Regions from separate parts of the Homo sapiens genome. Here regions 1 and 3 are each linked to region 2. Evidence: promoter capture Hi-C in 16 types of primary human blood cells and fetal thymus (Javierre and others, 2016). All regions are on one chromosome and are shown on one strand. Each heading gives the region's core, a stretch centred on a gene start or on the middle of the fragment in contact. The rest is flanking DNA. Distances are from core to core; before and after follow the strand shown. Region 1 holds the start of RFC1 (replication factor C subunit 1). Region 2 holds the start of PDS5A (PDS5 cohesin associated factor A). Region 3 overlaps RPL9 (ribosomal protein L9).

Region 1 (2,838 bases), core at 276-2,775, 610 kb after region 2:
TCCATTGTATTCTTTGATCAAATCAGTCATAGGCCAGTCCAGGTTCAAGGGAGGAGTTTCAAAGCATATGCAGTCATTTTAGATCTGGTATATTTCTGAGATAGAGTATTTTCATGTAAATAAATATTCCTAAAGAAAACAATCTCACAAAGAAGTTACAGTCTCCTGACTTAAGTCTCATTTAAACTCAAGGAAGGCTTCAAATGCCAAAAAAAAAAAAAAGCAAAAGTTAAGAGGAATGTAATATAAAAGACACGTACAACTTTTTATGTCTTATTTACTCATTTATTGATTTATAACACAATGAACATTATAAATTGGTGTAGGTCCTCTAAAATTATGGGCAAAAATTTGTGTGATATGTCTGCTAAGACAAAACCGAGGCACAGTAACTTGCCCTTGGTCACATAAATAGCAGGTGGTGGGGCTGGAGACCTAGCATCCTGGCTTCAGAGGGAACAGTGCAGTGAGGCCCTGTTAATAAGTAACAGTCTGTCTGTAAATTCGGGATAAGAGTAGTCAGTGTCATCATGGGGATAAAATGAGCTAGGCTAGTCCAGAGCTGCACGTACAACAATAGGCGTTTAATAAATACAAGCTGTCAATGCTCAGCCTCTGTTGTATTCCAGGCTGTTCTATCTTTCGCCATAGAAATGTTGGTGTCATAAAGCGCAAGACCCAACAGGGGGTGGATGGGTGAGAATTTCAAAAGTGTAGCTAGAGCCAAAGCTGGAGATACTGCTTTCTCCATTGAACTCTTTATGGTCTAATCTTTCTCTTGAAATCGTACGCAAATGTTTCATTGTATTCCGTGATTCAATTGCTAATCTATTCATATACAACTGGTTTACCCCAAAGCTTTCGGTATCTTTTCTTTTTTTTGAGGCGGAGTTTCGCTCTGTCGCCCAGGCTAAAGGGCAGTAGCTCGATCTCGGCTCACTGCACCACTGCCTCCTGGGTTCAAGCAATTCTCCTGTCTCAGTCTCCCGAGTAGCTGGGACTACAGGCACACGTCACCACCCCCTGGCTAATTTTTGTATTTTTAGTAGAGACGGGGTTTCACCACATTGGTCAGGTGGTCTCGAACTCCTGACCTCAGGTGACCCACCCGCCTCGGCCTCCCAAAGTGCTGGGATTAGAGGGGTGAGCCACCGCGTCCGGCCTCTTGATGAAACCTTATTACAGAATAGATATTTATACATAATATGTAAAACGCACAGCTAAAACATTTATCTTACTAAAGTTGGTAGTAAAAACTTTTCAAAGTTACTATAGGGAAGTGCATTGTCCAGACGTGTAACCGGGAGGTACTTGGGTACCCCGCCTGCCAAGGAAACCAATATCGGATCCCCCTACTTTAGCGCCCCCGCCAAAAACCGAGCTCACACCAAAGCACCGTGGTTCCTCTCGATGTCAGCGGCCCGCCTGCCCTCGGGGCAGCACCTGGGCAGGCGTCGCACCTCCCGCCTCTGGGCGGGACGGAAGCAAAGCTCGCGCCTCCTGACGTCATCACCGCGCGCCACTGTCTTCGCCTTCTTGCACTTCGCGGGAGAAGTTGTTGGCGCGAATGGATCCTGAGCCTCGATAACAGATTCCTCAACCGGCCCACCCGCCAGCCAGCCAGCGCCTTCATCCTGGGGCTGCGATGGTGAGCCGCTGGGGGAGGCCGTGCGGCTCGGGGTCTGGGGGGGCTTTGCAGGCCTGGTGTGGACCGGGCACTCCTGGTATGCAGGGTGGGGGAGGATGGCGGTGGGTGGTTCCGGAGGCTAGCAAAGGCAGAGAAGGGGCCGCACACCGGGCACTGGACGCAAAACTTTCATTGCATCGCGGGCTCTGGCTCTGGGCGGCAGCCAGCGCGCAGGGATTTTGTTGCTACGTGTACTTGCACTTTCCCCCCGCCCCCCACTCTTGGGGGAAGGGAGAAAGGAAGAGAGGAAGGATGGTGGTTTTGGGACGCATTGGTAAAGTTATTTTCTTGTTCGGCGTTGCCCGAACCTCAGTTTGAGTACTGCCTAAAGCGTGGATTTCAAGCTTTGGGTCACGAGGGAGAAGAATGTAACAAACTTTTCTTTCTTAGGGAATATGTTGTGTAGGGCCTTAAACTTTTATCATTAACAGCTCAGCTCGTCTCATCTCCGCTCGTCATTAACGATCACCTGAGCGGTGTTGAGACCGAGGGCATGGAGAGGATATTTTATTTTGTTTAGATGAGTTCATAGGAGTCAAAAGGATAACATGGCTTACTAGGAAAAAGAAGTACAGCGAATAGAAACAGATGCAAGACATTTGACAGCTGTCATCCTCTTACCACCTGATGTTTAAAATCTGAAAAAAACCCAAGCCTCACTGCATAATTCTGGATAAAATGTTCAAACAAATTGAAAGTGAAATGATTATGCAGCCAGCAAAGCAGACATTCCTGATGGTATGGCAATGGATATGGCTCTGTGTTTGAAATATTTTTAAAGGACCATTTAAAATGTTCATTAAGCTAGAAGATACTTAACAATCCGATATAATTTTTTTCAATCATTGGTCAACGTGTCACAGTGACAACATTCTGGGGGGGGGCGGTGAAAATTTTATGCCACACTGGGAAACGTTGCAGGCCTTTGTGTTTCTTCTCAAAAAAGGGCAACAGTAATGATAGTAGCTACCTTGTACCAAGCATCTTCTTTAGGTCAATATGTGAACTGTTGGTTTTCCATGGTTTTTTTTTTTTTTTTTTTTTTTCATTTCAACCCACATCGATGCAGTTTTACAGATGGTGCAAGCACCTTTTTGGAATTTAAACAGTGTATCATATAACTAGTAGGTGGTTGAACTAGAATTAGAATC
Region 2 (2,700 bases), core at 4-2,503:
AGTTCTAGCAAATCAGCAACTGTGGAGTGTCAGATTCGCAATGACTGCTCTTGTGTAATACGTCAAAAACAAGTCAGTGAGCTGAAATGCAGTACCTTTACTATTTTTAAGTTGACGTTAAAGGATGTGGGAAAAAAATAGACCAATGGGTACCCATCAAGAATAATTTGAATAAACAATCGAATATCATTTTAAACTATGGTAGTGGTCAGTTTCAAGAGCTGAATGTGATTTCATATTATCGTATCCTTTTTTCAACTTTCTCTTCGGAAATTTTGTGTATGCTCTTGATTTTTTTTAAATAGGTAAGTGTATGTTCTTGCGTTAATTTGTTTCAATTACATACATTAAATTGCTCAAACACTGCTGCGTGCACTGTTTTTACCTGATAGTGGTTTTCCTTTGGATGACAGAAAACGTTAATGCTTGGTAGGTTTAAAACATTTTTAAAAAATGAGCTCTTCCTTATTTACAAGAATCACCCACCCAATTAATAAATGCTTATTTCTGGGTTCCACTCTCAGAGATTTTTATGTTTATGTATATTTTTATATTTTTTAGTGTTTTATTTTATATGTTATATTTTTATATGTTTTATGTTCATATATATTTTTACGTTAAAAAAACATATATTTTTATGTTTTTTAATCTTTGGAGTTGGAAACCTACGTTTTCAGCCAGTACCCAAAGTGATTGTGAGGCCTGGTGGCCCAAAGACCATACCTTGAGAACGACTCGACCCAATGCTATTTTCATGTTTTGCAGCTTTCAAAATATTAACTTCAGAAATCTAAGGAGGGTGGGCAACTCGGGTGGCTGTCAGAAGACCCGAGAGTGAGCCGCTCACGCTGCGCCCCATTGCACAACTTTCCTTGACTTTGCAGATCTCTCCCTGAGGAGGAAATCAGTTCATTTTCACCGAGCAATTAACTACCTCCCAACCAGTTTCGTCTATGTCCCTCAGGATGACCCCCAAAAGTCACCAGCTCATCGCCGCTGCGAAAGATAAAGCACTGTTTGCCCTGCGTGCCCTCGCAAGGCCGCGGGAACCTGGGCTCGCTTCCCGCCACCCGGGCTCCTCCTCCTCTCGCCCTCTCCGGTCGGGTCCTCCGGGAGGCGCCCCGCGCGGCAGGTATTGGCGCCAACCGGGTGGCGGCGCTGTCCGCCCTGCGCGCGGCCGCCTCGGGCCCGAGGGAGGCGGATGCACGGCCGGCGGAGGAAGGGGAGGGAGCGAGGAGCGCGCGCTGCTCTCGCGTGCTCTCGCGCCGCTCGCGTGACCGGCCGGTGTGTGCGCGAGGCCCCGGCTCCCGGGGCACGGACGGCCGGGCGCGCGCCTCTGCGAGGGGCGTCCGGGTCCGAGTCGGCGGTCCGGGCCGGCGCGAGGTGCGTGCGGGCGGGCCGCGGGGGTCCCGGACGGACACAAGCGCACACACTCCCGGAGGAGCCTTCGAGGCTGCTCTTCCTCGGCCAGACGGAGAGCGGCACTGTCTCCCCGCCCAGCGCTCACTCGCCCCGCGTCTCCCCCCGCGGCGGCTGCTCCTCCTCGGCACCGCCAGCCCCAGCGCCGCTCCCGGGCGGGCGGGCGGCGGCGGCGGCGGCGGCGGGACCCGCGGAGCCGCTTTGTGTGCAGCCCGACTAGGGGCGGCGGCGCAACCACCTGACAGAGGCCCGGGCGCTCGATGCACCTTCCGCCCGCATGAGGAGGAGGTAAAGGCGGCGGCGGCTCGGCTCCCGCCCTAGGCTGCTGGAGGGAGGGGACGGAAGGGGAGACTGGAGGGGGGGGCCGCGGGTCCGAGGCCCGGTGGGGCCGCCCGAGGGTGCCGGGAAGGCCTCGGCGGTGCCGGAGGCGCCAAGCGGCCGGGGGCCAGAGAAGCAGCTGGGGTCCCTCAGCCGAAGTTGAAGGAACAAAATGTGAAGTGCGGAGGCGCGTCAGCCGCTTCCTGGCGTGGGGCTGAGGGTGGAGGGCGGCTTGTTTTCCCCTCCCGCGGGGGTGAGGGAGCGGAACAGGGGAGGGGTGGCAGCGCGGCGGGGACTACCCCGGGTCCGAGGCTCGGCTGGGCAAGGGCGTTTTGTTCCCGGCAGCCGCCGCTGCGCGTGGGTCCGCTGGGTCCCTAGTTTTGCGGCCTAAGCCGAGCCCTATAGGCCTCGGGTCTGGTTTCCCGGAGGGGACTGGCCGGGCGGGACTGGGTGCTTCCCCACCGCCGAGCGGGGGCCTTGGGGTCCTTGCCGGCCTCCCGGGGCCGCCAAACTTCGGACCCTGGTGCTCGGGGGTGGATTTCATTGTGAAAGGCGGAATGGGAAACTCCTGGCGCTGTTCGGCGGCCACGGCGGCTGGTGCGGAGGAGCCCCGTGAGCCTGGGGCTGGCAGGGCCGGGTTGGCGGGGCCGGCGGGGTTCGATCCCTGGGAAAGAGCGGGTGGCGAGGCCGCTGCCGGGTCCCCGGCCTCTGGGGAGACAGGGCCTTTTCCAGATTAGAGAGATTTGAAATGAAAAAAGAGGTTACAAAGTCGCCCCTTTCCCGCTGAACTTTGGTTTTCTGACCGATAGAGGCCGGTAGAGGACTGTGAACCAAAAGTTGTCCCCCAGGATGGACTTCACCGCGCAGCCCAAGCCTGCCACTGCCCTCTGTGGCGTCGTGAGTGCCGACGGGAAGATCGCTTACCCTCCGGGGGTAAAAGAGATCACCGACAAGATCACCACG
Region 3 (2,849 bases), core at 188-2,687, 520 kb after region 2:
GGGACTTCAATCACATCAATGTAGAACTCAGCCTTCTTGGAAAGAAAAAAAAGAGGGTGAGGGTTTTTCTTCTGATAATTCAGTTGCTCGTTGGAAGGTGGTTTATAACAGCATCACATTTGGTTGCTTTAACAATTTTCGAATTAAGGTTCAGTGCTTCAGCTTTAAATGTTGCTGTCCAGAATACCAGCCTGTTCAGTGAAATTGAAAAACCAGATTCTGAACACAGCCAATTATATAAAGCTCAAATGTAATAGTGGTCATCAGTGACACGTCTTAATGGTGTTAGAAGTTTGGTTTATTTTCCTAGTGATTGCTTTGTAAAAATCACAGGAACCGGCAGTAGGTCATTTAAACCTGATGATTTAATTTTCCAGAAGGGAAGTTTGTTGCAACTTCTACAAAGCTTAACTGTTGGGAGGTTTTATAGGTGGTTGGATTTTTCCAGTTGAAAACCATGTGCTTTGATAAGGGTTAATTCTAGAATCTTAAAGTAATTCGGTAAGTGGTCTGTTGTCTTTTAAGCCTGCATATTTCTGGAAAGAATACATTTTTTGTTCTGTTACAGCTCCGGGTTGACAAATGGTGGGGTAACAGAAAGGAACTGGCTACCGTTCGGACTATTTGTAGTCATGTACAGAACATGATCAAGGGTGTTACACTGGTAAGCAGATGTATCAGACTTCCTTGTTTTGGAAAGGGAGGTTTCTCAAACCTGTGCTTTATACAGCGTAAGTGTCTCTTTCAGAGAATGGGTCATGTATTTTATTTGGTGTAATACGCAAGAACTTGGCAAAAATAGGCATCTGTGGGTCTTTAAGCGATAGAGCTGAGAGCAAAGACCAGATGGGTACAACATGTTTGTTTTTTTCTGTTGTTGGGTTTTTTTTTTTTTTAATCAAGGCTGGGGTCTCGCTATTTTGTCCAGGCTGAGCTCAAGTGATCCTCCCACCTTGGCCTCCCATAGTACTGGGATTGCAGGCATGAGCCACCATGCATGGCTAGATGGGTACAACTTTTAAAAAGTAGGCTAATGATGAATTTTCATACCTTCCGAATTCTTTAAGATAGGAAATCTACAGTTGCAGTACTAGTTGGTAGTCACATCTCACCATCAGGACCCCTTGTTGGGATAGAAAAAGATGTAGTTTCTGAGTTTTCTGTCTGCTGCCATAATGTATGTCATTATTCTTTCCAACCCACCGTCTCTCCCCTCAAGATAAAAAGTTCATGCTGAAATGGTTTTCTTTGCATTATACCTTCTAGAATGCACCTGATAATGGCACCCTGTACATCTATTATAAATCTGTTAAGATTCCCCCATCTACCCTTGCTCTTAGCCTTAAGTTCCTTGAAGGCAGGGGGCCTGCCTTTGGCTTGGTGGTCTCAATTCCTGCCATGTGCTGTACCTTAGTAACTCAGTAAATGTTAGTCTAATGTCTAAGATCAGGGCTTTGGGGTTCTCATTAAAAGAAGGCAGCATTGTTCATTGAGGGCATAAGAGCTAGTGAAATAAAGCCTCCGCAAGGAGCTTTACAGTCCACTGAATAGACAGAACAATGTTTATAAGGCTTGGTTCAGGTGACAGTTATTAGAAAATCTTGGCAGTGAGTGTTACGTTTTAAAATAAGTATAAGCATCTTAGAAAATTTTAAAACTATTAAAAATATTCCTCAGCATTGCTAATAGCTTGCTTATTTATTTAACATAGGGCTTCCGTTACAAGATGAGGTCTGTGTATGCTCACTTCCCCATCAACGTTGTTATCCAGGAGAATGGGTCTCTTGTTGAAATCCGAAATTTCTTGGGTGAAAAATATATCCGCAGGGTTCGGATGAGACCAGGTATGTGCATACCCTCAGACAGAATTAAGAAATTTTTCCTTCATATTTTTTTCCTCCTTTTCCACTCCCAACTTCCATACTTTAGTTGGCTGTTGTTTTGTGTTTGTGCTGAGTAAAACCAGATTTGTTTTAGAATTATCTCTTGATTACACTTAAACTGTTGGTGCTACTTAAGGGTTTATATCATTATGTCGATTACAATTTCAGAAAGTTGATACATTGGAGTAGCTTGCAGTGGTGGTTGTATTTAACTTGGCAAATGAAATCTTTTAAAAAGACTTTAAATTTACAAAAGGTGTATATAATGGTGTGTATTTATGGAGCACAATGTGATGTTTCAACACATGCATATTCTGTGGAATGACTAAATCAGGCTAATTAACACATCCATCACTCCATTTATTTCTTCGTGGTAAGAACCTTTAAAATCTAAAGAGAAAACTACATGAGTAGTGGTTAATAGCCTAGCGTAAATTTCAGCTCTCACTGTCCACCTTGGGCATGTCATCTCTCTGCAGCTTAAAATTGCAAACATCTTTGATTAAATGAGTTAAAGTTGAAAAACAACAATGCATGCGTAATACATAGTAAACACAGTAGCTTTAAAAAAAATTTAAAGCTTAGTGCTTTTTATTTGAGGCAGGGTCTTGCTCTGTTGCCCAGGCTGGAGTACGGTGGCGTGATCTCAGCTCATTGCATCCTCCACCTTCGTGCTCAGGTGTTTCTCCCACCTCAGCCTCCCCACTAGCTGGCACTGCAGGTGCCTGCCACCACATCCAGCTGATTTTTGATTTTTTGTAGAGACTGTTTCGCCACGTTGCCCAGGCTGATTTCAAGGAATGCTATGGTGCCTGGCCCCAGCTAATTTTTAAGTTTTTTGTAGAGGCAGGGTCTTGCTATGTTGTCCAGGCTGGTCTTGAACTTGCAGGCTCAAGCAGTTCTTCCCCCTTGGCCTCTTAAAACATACCTGGCTCGGCCTCTTGATGCATTTTGATTCCATTGGGG

The links. Contacts are between HindIII fragments. The CHiCAGO score rates a contact against its expected background, and 5 or more counts as called.
Region 1: a contact is called between the fragment with the promoter of RFC1 here and the fragment with the promoter of PDS5A in region 2, in 3 of 17 cell types (fetal thymus, total CD8 T cells and erythroblasts). The highest score is 8.2, in fetal thymus.
Region 3: a fragment that was not itself captured here is called in contact with the fragment with the promoter of PDS5A in region 2 in 13 of 17 cell types (fetal thymus, naive CD4 T cells, total CD8 T cells and 10 more); the score reaches 22.2 in fetal thymus.

Annotation. Positions count from the first base shown.
Region 1 is chr4:39,365,049-39,367,886 of GRCh38, reverse strand. It overlaps RFC1 (replication factor C subunit 1), which reads left to right and starts at 1,525. Exons shown (of 25, transcript NM_002913.5): 1 at 1,525-1,648. The coding sequence starts at 1,646. RefSeq lists an enhancer at 1,484-1,603. The HindIII fragment of the contact is 1,173 bases long and covers 861-2,033 here.
Region 2 is chr4:39,976,464-39,979,163 of GRCh38, reverse strand. It overlaps PDS5A (PDS5 cohesin associated factor A), which reads left to right and starts at 1,253. Exons shown (of 33, transcript NM_001100399.2): 1 at 1,253-1,707; 2 at 2,547-2,700. The coding sequence starts at 2,587. RefSeq lists silencers at 1,029-1,668, 1,719-2,468 and an enhancer at 2,006-2,700. The HindIII fragment of the contact is 4,779 bases long and covers 1-2,700 here.
Region 3 is chr4:39,455,401-39,458,249 of GRCh38, reverse strand. RPL9 (ribosomal protein L9) reads left to right here. Exons shown (of 8, transcript NM_000661.5): 3 at 1-56; 4 at 569-664; 5 at 1,712-1,844. Among named protein-coding and RNA genes, the nearest start is that of RPL9, 2.1 kb to the left of the region's middle. RefSeq lists an enhancer at 1-327. The HindIII fragment of the contact is 2,057 bases long and covers 409-2,465 here.